3 separate regions of the Homo sapiens genome follow, and all the other regions are linked to region 3. Evidence: promoter capture Hi-C in 16 types of primary human blood cells and fetal thymus (Javierre and others, 2016). All regions are on one chromosome and are shown on one strand. The core of a region is centred on a gene start or on the middle of the fragment in contact, and the rest is flanking DNA. Distances in the headings are between cores, read along the strand shown.

The links. Contacts are between HindIII fragments. The CHiCAGO score rates a contact against its expected background, and 5 or more counts as called.
Region 1: a contact is called between a fragment that was not itself captured here and the fragment with the promoter of ZNF697 in region 3, in 4 of 17 cell types (naive CD4 T cells, naive CD8 T cells, non-activated CD4 T cells and 1 more). The highest score is 6.2, in naive CD4 T cells.
Region 2: a fragment that was not itself captured here is called in contact with the fragment with the promoter of ZNF697 in region 3 in 6 of 17 cell types (non-activated CD4 T cells, total CD8 T cells, activated CD4 T cells and 3 more); the score reaches 7.1 in non-activated CD4 T cells.

What each region holds. Positions count from the first base shown.
Region 1 is chr1:119,274,163-119,278,743 of GRCh38, forward strand. It overlaps WARS2-AS1 (WARS2 antisense RNA 1), which reads left to right. Exons shown (of 7, transcript NR_125975.1): 7 at 1,026-1,811. Among named protein-coding and RNA genes, the nearest start is that of LINC01780, 52 kb to the right of the region's middle. The HindIII fragment of the contact is 4,403 bases long and covers 516-4,581 here.
Region 2 is chr1:119,293,762-119,298,538 of GRCh38, forward strand. No RefSeq gene overlaps it. Among named protein-coding and RNA genes, the nearest start is that of LINC01780, 32 kb to the right of the region's middle. RefSeq lists enhancers at 1-232, 233-812, 813-1,392. The HindIII fragment of the contact is 180 bases long and covers 1,245-1,424 here.
Region 3 is chr1:119,646,316-119,650,875 of GRCh38, forward strand. ZNF697 (zinc finger protein 697) reads right to left here and starts at 1,951. Exons shown (of 3, transcript NM_001080470.2): 1 at 1,376-1,951. LOC124904389 (a long non-coding RNA gene) reads left to right here and starts at 2,001. Exons shown (of 2, transcript XR_007066506.1): 1 at 2,001-2,072; 2 at 2,409-2,661. RefSeq lists silencers at 1,368-1,531, 1,829-1,888 and enhancers at 1,947-2,787, 1,959-2,028. The HindIII fragment of the contact is 7,030 bases long and covers 1-4,560 here.

The DNA.
Region 1 (4,581 bases), core at 1,467-3,966, 370 kb before region 3:
CTCACTGTGATTGACAAAGAGGGGACTTGGTTGGAGGAAAGATTCCCTTTGGAGAGTGAAAAACAGTCCTCATCATATTGCTTGAGCTTTATATGGCACATTATAGTTTACAAACCTTTCTTGTGCTCTCTGTTATTTGATTATAACAATAACTCCATTTATTGCTGATACAGACTCAAGTTTAGGAAGATTAAAGTCATTTGCTTAGAGCTACTTGACAGCTGGGGCTATTTTCCTGGTCTAAGGAACTGCTGAACTGGATCCAATCCTAGTTCCATCCAATCTTAGATCCTAATAGTCATAAAATTCTGAAAGAATGTGTCAGGAGATGATATATCAGGAAATGTAGAGAGTGACCTGTTGGCACAGAAATGTCTTGTAAATACATTTGTCAATTCAATATTTTCTTCCACTGAGTAAAGAAAGGTCTGTTTTCCACGTTAGAACACATATTGAGGTATCCCTAAATCTTAAACAACTTTTCATGATAAACAGCCCTAATGAAATTCCTGGGAAGCTTCTAAGATAGGAGGATTTTTCATTCAGCTTCCTGTGTCCCATTCTTGGGCTTGCAGGCAACCGTAGCCAAGAGCTATGGTCTCTCTTGAGATGGTAGAAAGCTGCCTTGTCACATTAGGCTGCAAAAGTCGTCCTGTTTCCTCCTTTCTCTAAAAGAAGAATGAAGTTCACCTCTGGTGGCTTTATCTTTCCAGGAAAAGGAAACTCAGGTCTAAAGCCATCCATTTACAGATGAGGACACAATTATAAACTGGGACACTTGATGGCTTTCAGCTCACAGCTCTTGTGGCTTAGGTCTCTGGGTGCCAGGTTCCAGACCTGGACCTGCCACAGAAGTATCGGCTGATCTTGGAAAAATCATGAAACCTGTTTGTTTCTAATATCTCCTTGGGATACATTTGGTAAACAGTGCTTTGGCTGAAAAGAGTGGATGCTGGCATGAGGAAAATGGAGATCTTAACAAATGTGTAGAATGTTAATTCTTCCATGTCTTTCTCTTCCTTTAGGTGTTTTTCAGCCCTAGCTATACATTGGAATCAACTGGCAAACTTTGAAAAAATCACAAAGCCTATGCCACAACCCAGAGGTTCTGAGGTGCAGCCAGAGTATAGAACCTGTAATCTAGGTAATGGCTCTCACTGGAAAACAGCTGTGGCACTGGTATAGGAGCAATGAGGGGCTCACGCAGAACTCCCTGTGTGGGCTCACCTGGCCTTCCAAAGGCCCAGCCTGACCACTTGGGACCAAAGTGACCCTTACTATTAAAGGCTTCTAACATTCACAGAAAGAAAGTACGTCAAGGGTGTGTGAAATCATGACAGAAGCTCCTCCTCCTAGGAACTATCACAGGAAATTACCCTTTATACCTAAGAATAAAGACCGAATAGAGAGAAGCCAGCTCTATCCACAACCAACAGATGGCGCTATTGTCCAATGCCCTGCCATTTAGGTCTCTGCCAACCACTTACTCCTTAATACTTGGTAATTTGCTGCATTTGTGCATGATTTTGAAATGTTCTAGAAACATTTTTGACTCCACATATCTGAGAAGTGCAAAAGTAGCAATAATATTAAAAGTGTTACTTAAAAAAGGAGCATAATTATGACAAAATGAAAGTAGAACCATTTTTAAAATCAGAAGGCAGTGAGAAAATAAAATGTAAGTTTGTACATGCATGTGGAATTAATTTTTAGACAGTAGGAACAATTCCAAAGGGCAGAGTTGATCATGAATCCTGAGAAAAGTGTTGTGCCTCTGCAACTGACAATAAAGAGCAAGAGATACGGAAATGAATGAAATGGAAAAGTTTATAGTGTGCGGCTAGATAATTACAATGCCTGATATGTGCTTTATCTTCACCATAAACTATGCAAGTGCTCTCCTTTCTTTCATCATCACCCAGCCAGCCAAAATCAACCACTGTCAATTAGACTGTTTTTAACTTTGGAGAAGGCTGGGGGTTGTTCTAGAATTTGGAACTAAGCATGGTAAAAGCTCTGCTACTTAACTTCTGGAGTAAGTCAGGGACTAGTTCTGTAATCTGAAAGACAATCTATACTCTCAAATCTACGCTACTTCAAGGTGGCAAGGCAGCCCAGTCTGACACTAACCATAACTTCTAAGGAGGTCTATTCTCTACCACACCTGCAGAAATGGCTGGGGAGAAGGGTTAAATTAATGAACTTAAAACATCTTTGGCAAGTGACGCTATTTCTTGGAGAAAAAAAAAGAAAAATAAGACATTTAACTGGTCCATGTTAGGAAAAGATGCTTGGTAGAATGTATCAGCAGGAATAAGAGTATGTCTGATTTAAAGCTCTGAAAGTTTGACATTCTGTTATTTACTGAAAGTACACTGGGAAACTGCAAGCTCAGCCTCTCTAAGACACTTTGAATTTATAGTGTATCAGTCAGGATCCAATTAGAGAAGTAGAATGAATAGGACATAAATATTAAGAGATTTATTACAAAGAATTGGCTTATGTGATTGTGGGGGATGGCTAGGCAAGTCTGAAGTCTGTAGGGCAGGCACTCAGGAGGGCAGACTGGAACTGTCAGGCACAGGTGGAAGCTGCCATCTGCAGGTGGAATTTCTTCCTCTTCAGGGAAGCCTCAGCTCTGCTATTAAGGCCTTTCAGCTGATTAAATTGGGCTCACCTGGATTATCTAGGATACGCTCCCTTTGTTAAAGTCTACTAATTATAGTCTTAAATTACATTTAAAAATTCCATTCACAATAACACCTAGATTTGTATTTGATTCTGTAACCAGAGACTGTAGTCTATCCAAGTTGACACAACAAAAAGACAATCACAGGCTAGATGCGGTGGCTCATACCTGTAATCCTACAGTTTGGGAAGCAGAGGCAGGAGGATGGCTTGAGGCCAGGCATTCAAGACCAGCCTGGGCAACAAAATGAGACCCCATTTCTACAAAAAATTAAAAAAAAAAAAACTTAGCTGAGTATGGTGGCATGTGCCTGTAGTTGCAGCTACTTGGGAAGCTGAGGCAGTAGGATTGCTTGAGCCCTGGAGTTCAAGGCTGCCGTGAGCTGTGATCACTGCACTCCAGCTGCCTAGGTAACAGAGTAAGACACTCTTTCTAAAAAAAAAAAAAAAAGAAGAAAATTAAGACCATCATAAATAGTGTTTGGAAATAAGACTGTTTCTGAGTAGAAGCGCTTCTAGATTAAAAAAAAAAAAAAAATCCCGTATGCCCTAGGAACTGGATTCTTTATATAGAAACCACAGATGTCATGGTCTGGGGGATCTGGTGATATTCTTATGTACATAAACCCATTCATTTATTTAGTTATTCAACAAATTTCATTGCATACTTACTATTTGCTAGTCTCTGTAGTAAGTGCTGACACTATAGGAACATGATCCTTACCCTCGAAGGCCCACAGACTAGTAGGAGAGACAGAGACACTCTGAGTTCCAATACCTTGTGACAAATGGTAGTTCAGTTGAGCCTCTAAACCTAGTTGTGAAATTAAGGAAGAGGCACTTAAACAGAATCTAGACTTAAGCCCAGGGGGATGCAGCATTTAGAGATGGAGAGAAGGGGTGGAAGAAGAGTCATCATAGTGATAATCCCAGCCCCAGACCATGCTGACCCCCACAGAGCTGGTGCTCAAGTGGTCAAACATATTGTAAAGGGCCAACTCAGGGAAGACTCTCCTAGGTCACTCCTACTTTATGTGTTTTTCAGCCTTCCTGTTAATGGTATGTCCACAGCACCTTCAGCCTAGCCTCTAGGTCTTCATGGAGGTGCTGCTTCAGCCAGAGGTGAGTTTGCTGCCAAAACTGAGAACCTGCACCTGCTCCAGGTGCTCAGAGCAATGGCTTTCTCTTCCCATCTCAGCTTGGCCAGTTCATCTGCTTCCCTTCAGAACATCTACCCCCTTTACCCATGTTTTTCCTCCCTTGATGTTTTTCCTCCCTTGACTTCCTTTCAAGTAATCAGGCATGTGCACTGGTCATCTGCACTATTCGTTAGCCTAGGAATCTATTCTTTTTCAAAATGGATTAAGCAATGTCTTCCCTACCTCCATCTCAGGACAGTGAGGGTAAATGAAGCCCACTGTGAAGCTCCTTAGAACTGGTACTGCCACACAAAAGTAAAGTACAGGTTGGGTATTGCCATCATCTGTCTGTCTCTATATCTATCCATCCATCCATGCTGTCTAATCACTCCTAAGCTGTGTGTCACAGAAGGATAGAAAACATTGTTGAATCTATAATACCTAGTACAGTTTCTACAGCTTCTGCACAAAGCAATTGTTCATTAATTTTCTAGTGAAGACAATGATAATGAGACCATCTGAGGGTTTGGGAGACAGATCATTGCAAACAGCTACACCACTGATACTAGAATTCCTAGAATGTCCCATCTCCTACCTCTGGCTAATTGCTTCTTTGAGACTCAGTTTAACACACCATCTTTGCTAAGAAAGCCTTCTGTCCTCAGTACCTTAGTACCAGTACTCATGTCTGAGTTGAGTACCTTCTCCTGCTACCATAGAATCCTCTGCACACTTTGGTCATTTCTCTTACTGT
Region 2 (4,777 bases), core at 85-2,584, 350 kb before region 3:
AAAACAGACTCAACATGATGGACGCTAAAAAGTTCATAGGCAACTATTTTGGGGTTCTTTGGCCTTTGACTCCACTGCACCTGGGGCAGCAACCTTCCTGTTCCTTTCTGCCTTGCTAGCCAGGGTTTCCTAAGCTTTGCTCTGCCTCCTCTGCCTAACCCCCTCCTCTGGCTCTTGCTTCCTCTGTCCCTCCTCCCCACCCCAACCAAGTGTGCCAGGCTTGTCCCTGTGCTCATCAGCTCTGAGTCAGATTCCTACCCCTACCTTAGCGGCACCACTTCGAGTTAGGCCAAAGCACTGAACAGGCCCTCTTGCAGTTCCCTGTTCCCAGGCGGGAGCCCCTAGCCCCTCTCTCCTCTCTTCCTCAGGCTTCTTAATGCCTCACACTCTTCCTTTCATTGAAAACCTGCAGAATAGAAAAACAAACAAACAAAAAACAGATACGCCATGGTGCAATTTATCTTTTTTTATTTATATGATAAATGTTTTCATGGCCTAATCTTTGTAAGGAACCAGGATAACATTTGACCTTTGGCTGGTGTTCCACCCCAGAGGACAGCATATCTTAAGGCAGGAGCAAGCAACTGCATGAATAGGGATGAAAAGCCACAGGACAGCTCAGGGCAATTGCTGGAGATTAATGTTCATGCAGGGAGGGGCAGACATGGGGACCAGAGGCTAGGCAGGGTCGAGGTCCTAGTGGGAAGGCGAGCCCTCCCAGGAACACATGCAGACTGCACCCTGTGCTCACCAGGAGCCAAGATACTTTTAGCTGGTATAATGACAAAATCTGAAATGCATTCTAACATGATACTTTTACTGAAGAGTGGGATAATATGGCATTTGTTATTGCCTGTCCTAGGAGGGGTTTATATTCTAATAAAAGTAAAAACTCAAGCTAAGCAAACTAAACCCTAGAATTCAGGAATCATTGTACAGGCAGGGCAGGGATTTGGGGGAAGATAGACACCTCAGCCCATGGAAATTACAACAGGAAAATCACTCCCTACACCCACCCTCCTGCCTGTTCTCCAAAACTTGAAGAATAACATTACCAGCAGAAGGAAAAACCAGTCCCTGATTCCCACCCCCACCCCCATCCAGTTCCCTCCTTCTTTTGTTAAAGCTTTCTGTAGAGAGCAATGACTGAGAGGATCAAAGCATCTACTTCCTTCCCTTTGATGTGTGGTCTGAGACAGGCTCTGATGTCAGCCACGTGTTGTATTTCATTAGACCTGATATTAAGCTTCCTAGAGGTCAGGACGACCATGCTGCTTTAAGAACCAGGCTATAAGAAGGCTCACTTTGCTGAAAATATCAGAGGTCTCAGCACCCCTTCAGACCCACTAGGAAATTATACAGGTAAAGAAGTTGGAGTGTCTTTTCTTGATCTTTACTGCTTTGTATTATGAGGCCTCTCTTCAAGCTTACTTTTCTGCCAGAACAGTCCATATTCTGCATTCTGAAATCATATTCCTTCCTCATGTCAAATTTTGGAGCTTCAAGCAGGTATGAAGAGGGCAAGTTTTGGAGAGAGCTCCTGCTTTCTCTAAAACTGAACCTCAGCTGATTTCAAGCCCTGGGTTATCCTCTGGCCAAGTAAGATGAGCTCTGGGTAATAGCATGAGATTTGCTAGTGGTATTTCAAGAACCAGAGTAGAAACTCTAATTAACCTCTCCCCAGAGTAAATTTTTAACCATAAATTTTCTCCTGTTTGTAAAACAAGCGGTTTAAGCTGCACGTATGCCCCAGAGGAATAAATTTCATAGCACATCTTGATTTCAGGCTGCATTCAGAATTTGCTATGGGAAAGTGCTTTTAATGGAAAAACCGAGACTTTCATCTGAGTTAAGGCTGTTCATTTCCCAGGGCAGATTGAAGGCTCAGGCAAAGCCCTGGACCCATCTCTCCTGTGACTGAAGTCACCTTGTCTGCAAAATGGGGGAGTAGTTCTTAACACCACTCAGTGGGCATCAGGTTCCCCAAATACAACCTTAGCACCCTCAAAAAAAATTAATAAATTAGAGCTGTCATCCAAAAAGAAAAATAGAGAGAGAATTCTGTTGGACTTCCTTATCATTACTTTATGTTTTCATGTATATTTTTTAATTTTTTTCTTTTTTTTTGAGACGGAGTCTGGCTCTGTCACCCAGGCTGGAGTGCAGTGGCACGATCTCGGCTCACTGCAAACTCTGCCTCCCGGGTTCACACCATTCTCCCGCCTCAGCCTCCCGAGTAGCTGGGACTACAGGTGCCCGCCACCACACCTAGCTAATTTTTTTGTATTTTTTTAGTAGAGATGTGGTTTCACCATATTAGCCAGGATGGTCTCTATCTCCTGACCTTGTGATCCTCTCGCCTCAGCCTCCCAAAATGCTGGGATTACAGGCATGAGCCACCAAGCCTGGCCCCTATTTTTTAATTTTCTATAACTTGATGAGAGTATCCTCTTTTCAGTGCTTAGGGCGTCTAATAGTCTTCATTAGCCCCAAATAGGAATAGGCCTCTTGACCCTTACCCCAAGCCTCCCTTTTTTGTCTCTGTGAGTCTCACAGCTGAGCCATTTACCTTCCTTCCTTCAGCTGTTTCTGGCCCTTTGGTCCTCTTAAGTCTTGCTCCTATTTGTGCAGAGCAAGGCAGATGCCCTTGCTTTGTCACTGTCCCTAAAAACAATTACAGAGCCCTTTCCTTTGTTGAGTTTTTTTCCCTGATAATTTTTTGGAGATGGATAAAACCAAGTGCAGGGAATTTGCTGCAGGCAGTCCTTGTTCTTGAAGTTCTTAGCAGATGGTGCAGATCTAGGCTCATGTCCTGGCTCTGCCTCTCAAAACCAGGTGGCCTTGGTGACTCCCCTAACCATTCTCAACCCAGTCTCCTCATCTGTAAAACTTACTTAGGGCACTGTGTGAAGAGTAACTGAGGATCAAGTAAGGATTCAGAAGGCAGCTCTCTCACTTATCTGAGATAATTTCTCACTCCTCTTCCTCTCTCTCCCTCTAGTCTTCATTCTAGCCACAACAAACTGAAGATGGCATGTCCCATGCGGGCCTTTGCATGAGCCTTTCTCTGGCTAAAATGCCCTTTTTTCACTTCTCTGCTATGCTATCCTATCCTATTCTGTCCTGTCCTATACTGTTCTGTCTTGTCCTGTCTTGGCCTATCCTTTCTTGTCCTGTCTTGTCCGATCCGATCCTATCCTGTCCTGTCCTATCCTTTCTTGTTCTGTCTTGTGCTATCCTATCCCATCCCATCCCATCCCATCCCATCCCATCCTTTCTTATCCTATCCTGTCTTGTCCTGTCCTAGCCTAGCCCAGCCCAGCCCAGCCCAGCCCAGCCCAGCCCAGCCTAGCCTAGCCTAGCCTATCTTGACCTATCTTGTCCTATCTTATCCTACCCTGTCCTGTCCTATTTTATTCTATCCTGTAATGTCCTACGCTATCCTCAAAACTCAGCTCTATTTTCTCTGGGAAAGCTTCTCAGAGAGTTAGTTAACTCCCTCTCCAGTGATGCTGTAGTATTTCAAATGAACATTATGATGTGATAAGTACTGCAAGTTTGTCTACTTATTTCAACTAGACTAAGATCACTACAGAGCAGAGATCAAGTCTTTTGCAGTTTTCTAAATTTATGTGGCACTTCTGTTAATAATAATAGCTACCTTGAATTTACTATGTGCTAGGCAATGTGCTACTCATTCATTTATTCATTCACTGACCCACAAATGTTTATTGAGTACCTGTGGTAGTCCGTAAAGCCTATTTTAAACGCTTACCATATGTGTGTCTCTATGCATCCAGAAAAGTTCAACACTTATAATTTTGAATAAAAATGATGTTTATGTCCATCTGCATAATGTACTAGTTAGTGGGCCTTCATAAATTGGTAAATTCTGTAATTCTCAGCTCCGAATGCCAAACAGGATTAATAACGACAACAACAAAACTCTTTAGGACACATTATAATGAAAAGTAAGAGTATCAAAAACAGCTTCTAGAGAGGAAAGGAAGACTGACTACAAAAGAATAAGAATCTGATTCATATCAGACTTAACACTGAAAACAAGAAGAACAAAAGGGTAGTTAATATCTTCAAAAATGTACAAGGAAGAAAGGAACTTTGAATCTAAATTTTCTAATTTGCCATGGCCTGAGGAGGGTGCCATGAGTTGAGAAGTATAGTCATCTCATTTCTGTACCTTGAGGGTAAGTGAGAGCATGGAAAGCATAAGCCTGGGTAGGTATCACAGCTGAAGACCAAAAAAGACAGAAGTCTTGGTCCTCGAGACACTCTGTTCCCAGGATAATATATGTGATCTTAATGCCCGTTCCTCTGGTGCCAGCCTGTGGCACCAGTTAGGGTGGTGATAGTGGCAGTCAACCCCATATTTAATGTGCTGCCTAAAGTTCCACCGATAACTGACTTCATCACGCTCTCCTTCTTTCCTAATGATTGAAGTTAAATGGAACCCTAGGCGTTTCTAACCTAAAAGCGAGTGATTAGGAAACATTTTTAATCACACTTACCATGCTCTATAGAAACTGTAAAGCTGGCCCAAAGAAACCAGCTAGAGTAGCCAGATTCCAAGTGTATATCACCAGATAACAGACCAATTTCTTTTTTTTCTTTTTCTTTTCTTTTTTTTTTTTTTTTTTTTTTGAGACAGAGTCTCACTCTGCTGCCCAGGCTAGAGTGCAGTGGTGTGCAATCTCAGCTCACTGCAACCTCCACCTCCTGGAGAACCCCAATTTCTGATCCCTCATCCTTGCCTATACTC
Region 3 (4,560 bases), core at 701-3,200:
ACTTCCAACACACACACACACACACACACACACACACACACACACACACGGCCAATATGTTCTAACTAGAAATCATCTAAATTCACAGAGCCTCTTCCCTTCACTTCATTATCCTCATGGCCTCATCCTAAACAACTCGGTTTTTTTTCTCGATTCCATTCTTTATCTCAGTTCAAATGCCTCATCTCTCCCAAAGAAGCTAAGGAAGAAATGTTTTGTTTCACCTCGAAAGCCATTTATATCAGGCTCAGGGCTCTCTCCATGTCCTACAGCATCATTCTTTCGACCATGAGCCTTGCATACTCCTGCCTGGCCATATAAGTGGCATTCTTAAAGGTTCATTTGGTTCCTCAAACGTATTCCACATTAAATAATATCCACATGTTGGCTTGTTGAGAGAAGAAGGTAAACAGTTGGGGGCATCAACAAAAAATCAGGTGAGGGGAGAAAGGAGAGATAGTGAGTGTGGCCCCTTAGGCATGCTGAGTTCAGTTACAACAGTCACACTTGGACTGTATTCAAAGTTGCCCACTCATCCACCACAGCTACTCAAAGACATTTAACTCGCTAGCCATTATCCAACCGCATTTACCAGACGCTCAGTCTTGAGGGAGGAGGGTAACGCAGTAGGGGATGCGGAGTATTGGTGTCATCCTACAGGTTAAGGACAAACATGCCCACTACAAGGACAGGGATACATCACCAACTTCAATTCAGCCCAGGGTTCATGTAGTAAGGGGTGGGTGATTCACTCCTGTGGGGGAGGCAGGGCGGGGGCGGTTGGGGGAGGCGGTTAGGAAAAAGGAAAATCGTGGAAAGTCCCAGAGGAAGTGGTAGTCAGTTCCCGATGCATGGCCATAATGTACATTGGCCATAAGGTACACTCAGCGCCTCTGTGTCGCTGCTCCCCCTCAACCTTTTACTCACCCACTCCTCCCAACACGCGCCTCACCCGTGCCTCCATGCACAATCCTGAGCCTCGGCATCCCCGCGAGGTGCAGGTTCCAGCTTTGCCCACCACCCCACCACCTACCTACATGGACACGTGTGGTTGGAATGCCTCCCGGGGCTAGACGGCCACCCCTCTTGGGCTGCGAGCTGCTGCCCATCTCTCCACCCACCCGTCCTTATTGTGTCATTTGCCCGGTCTGATGGCAGCCCCAAAGCCGCTCATTTGAGTGGGCTAGAATGGAGAAGAGAGGAAAAGGGAGGCACACATTTCATTCACTAGGACCCAAGATGACCTGCCGCCTCTCTCCTGCCCTTCTCGGAGCCCCCCACCCTCCCTTAGCCCCAGTGGGGCTGGAGGCACGAACAGACAAGGCAAGGGGAGCGCAGTCCGTCAAGGTCCACAGCTGCACACAAAGCCCTTCACCTTCTCCTTGCCTTCCAAGCTCCTCCCTGGGCTTGGTTTCTCCGAGGGTCTCTGATGCCCCCTTCGGTGGTCGGCGGGACGGTCCTATTCCCTCTTGCATCGCTGTCTCCTCCCTCAAGTCTCAGCCTCCTCCTCCCCGCCCCTCGCCACATACCCCTGAGGGAGCTCAGTCCTGGCTTTGGGGGCGCGAGAGCACCCCATAAGCCCGGGGCCCTGCGCCCCAGGGGAGCGGACAACGGTCCACTTTACGAGGCACAACTTCGCCCAGCCGTTCCGCCACCGCACTCGAACACACACCCCATCCCCGCAGCGGTCGGGTCTGGTCCCGATCAGCCCCATCCCCGGGAGGCGGTTGAGCCCAGCCACAGCCACGCTCCTACCTGCGAGGCGGCTGGCGCGGCGAGGAGCTAGGGCACCGAGCGCCCCGGCCCGAGCCCCGCACCGCAGCGCGTCTGCCCTTGTGCGGCGGCGGCGGCTGCAGCGGCCGCTGGGTGGCCCGCTGGCTGGCTGGTTGGCTGGCTGGCTGGCTGGCTGGCTGGCTGGCTCGCTGGCTGGCTGCCCGGCTGACTCCTCACTGGGGCTTCCTGTAGGGCTGGACAAAGGACATTTCCTGGGAGGAGCGGGAGAATGTTCCCAGCATGCCTCGATTTGTAGTTCCCGGGGACTTCCTGCCACCGCAGCAGCGGGCGCCCTGGAGGTAGCTCGGGCCAGGCTAGGACTCCGGGACAGGAGGAAAGGCGCTCGCTGCTTCTCTAAGCGCTGTGGGGAAGGGAGCGGCCGGCGGGTCTTGCCCCACGCCCCGCCCCGCGGCGCTCAAGGAGCCCGCTGTCCCGGAGCACGCGAGATCCCAGCGCTGCACTCCGAGCTCGCGGCACCGGTTGCGGGCAGCCGGTGGGACGCTGCCGCTGAGCTGTCCCATGGTTCGGGAGGGCTCTGCGGTGGGAGAGGCCTTTTCTTTAAAAACTGGGAAGTTTGTGGTGGGTTCGCTTTTTAAAAATTAATCTAAAAACACAAAATCTATCTTTTAAAATAGATTTTCTTTTTGTCTTTTACGCCGTTGACATCCTGCTGGGGGCCGATTAAAGAACTTGATTGCTCACCAGGAATTCAGGTTCCTTAAGATCTTGGCGCTTCATCTTTAAAACCATACAGAGCTGATTGTTTCCAGATCCCGACCCGGTGACATTCCTCCCTCATTGTTGACCTTGTCCCAAACATCTTTTCAAGAAAAGCAATTAAATTGAGATTGAAAATAAATTACGTAAATTAAATATTAGACGTGAAAACCTGTGTGCTGCTGAATTAGGAAAGTGCTGGACTTTCTGCGTATCTTTCCTTCATTAACCTTTAGGATTCAGCTTCTTGGTCCCATAAAACAGATGTGCTGGCCACTGTATATTGAGTGTGTGTATTTCGGGAGTGGAAGGGTGAGGAGAAGAGGACATTGGCTACAAGAGAGGAACTCTACTTCCAGCCTAGCAAGAGTCTATGATGCCCTGCACATGTTTTTGTCTATTTCTGGGACCACAGACTCAGGACCCTTAGAAAATCAAGGAAGGACCACATAGAGACTAAATGACTAAAAGCTATATTCTCTCCTGGAGCATGAGCAGAAAGTAATAAACTGAACTAGGAAAGGACAAGTTCTAGGATGCTCTAGAATGTGTTTGAAAAGTAATCAGATAGAAAAGTCTCTGGGAGGCCGGGCGCGGTGGCTCACGCCTGTAATCCCAGCACTTTGGGAGGCCGAGGCGGGCGTACTACGAGGTCAGGAGATGGAGACCATCCTGGCTAATACGGTGAAACCCCGTCTCTACTAAAAAAAAAAACACCAAAAATTAGCCGGGCGTGGTGGCGGGCACCTGTAGTCCCAGCTACTCGGGAGGCTGAGGCAGGAGACTGGAATGAACCTGGGAGGCAGACCTTGCAGTGAGCTGAGATCATGTCAGTGCACTCCAGCCTGGGCAACAAAGTGAGACTCCGTCTCAAAAAAAAAAAAGAAAGAAAGAAAGAAAAGTCTCTGGGCTTGGTGGCTCATGCCTGTAATCACAGCACTTTGGGAGGCCGAAGTGGGAGGGTCACTTGAGCCCAGGAGTTCAAGACCAGCCTGGGCAACACAGTGAGACCCTGTTTCTACGAAAAGTAAAATAAAATAAATAGCGGGTGTGGTGGCGCGTACCTGTAGTCCCAGCTACTCGGTCGTTTAAGTGGAAGGGTCGTTTGAGACTGGGAGTTTGAGGCTGCAGTGAACCGTGATTGCACTCCAGCCTGGGTGACAGATTGAGACTCTGTTTCAAAAAATAAGGTCATAATTACGTGTCACTTCCACTTGTCATTTCACATTTTAAATCCATATGATTAAAACATTTGGGTGAAGGGTTTAGCTTACATTTAAGTAAAGTTTATGCTAGAGTTCTCTTTCTCTAGAGATCCTTAACCTCACGGATAAGATGGCCTGGATTAAAATGTAGAATTGATGAGAAGCATGCAGATAGGACTGTTCACCTCCCAAAAGTTCCTGTTGTATGCCCACCCTAAAGGTCCTGCTGTATGCCCACTCTGTTGACTGTCCACCTAAATTAATTGTGCTGTGATCCTTGCATTTTCTGGACCCTACAAATTACTGCTCCTTCATATTCTCAACCTGGTAACATTCCAGTGAAACTAATCTCCCCATCTCCACCCCAAAGAATTGATTATTGTTTTGCAAATCAAGTAGCCTCTAATAGTGTTCAGTCTGAAAAACATGATATACTTGCTTGTAGCATTTAACATATAACATTGCCCATTGAAACTATTTTTTGCCTTGCTTTTAATACAACACACTCTCCTCCTTCTCCTACACTTCTAACTTGAGCTCAGAATAATTGAACTTTCACTCATTATTTCACGCCATTCCAAACCTGTCCCATCCTTTTGTTTCCAATCTCAGTTATTTTGTTACTTCAACAAAGTTTTGTTTAACATTTATTCATGCTAGTCTCCATGTCTGGAGTAGACATGTAACATTCAACAGTAAGATATTTTACTGAGTAACTACCAGCTATGTCTTACCCCCAAGAAGCCCACACTCCAGTTGAAAAGACAGATGTCACAAAATTACTTCACAGTGTTTAAGGGCTATAATGCTGCCTTATACTGGGGTTCGTGTTCTGTAAAAGTGGGGCTCTTTCCATAAGCCTTCT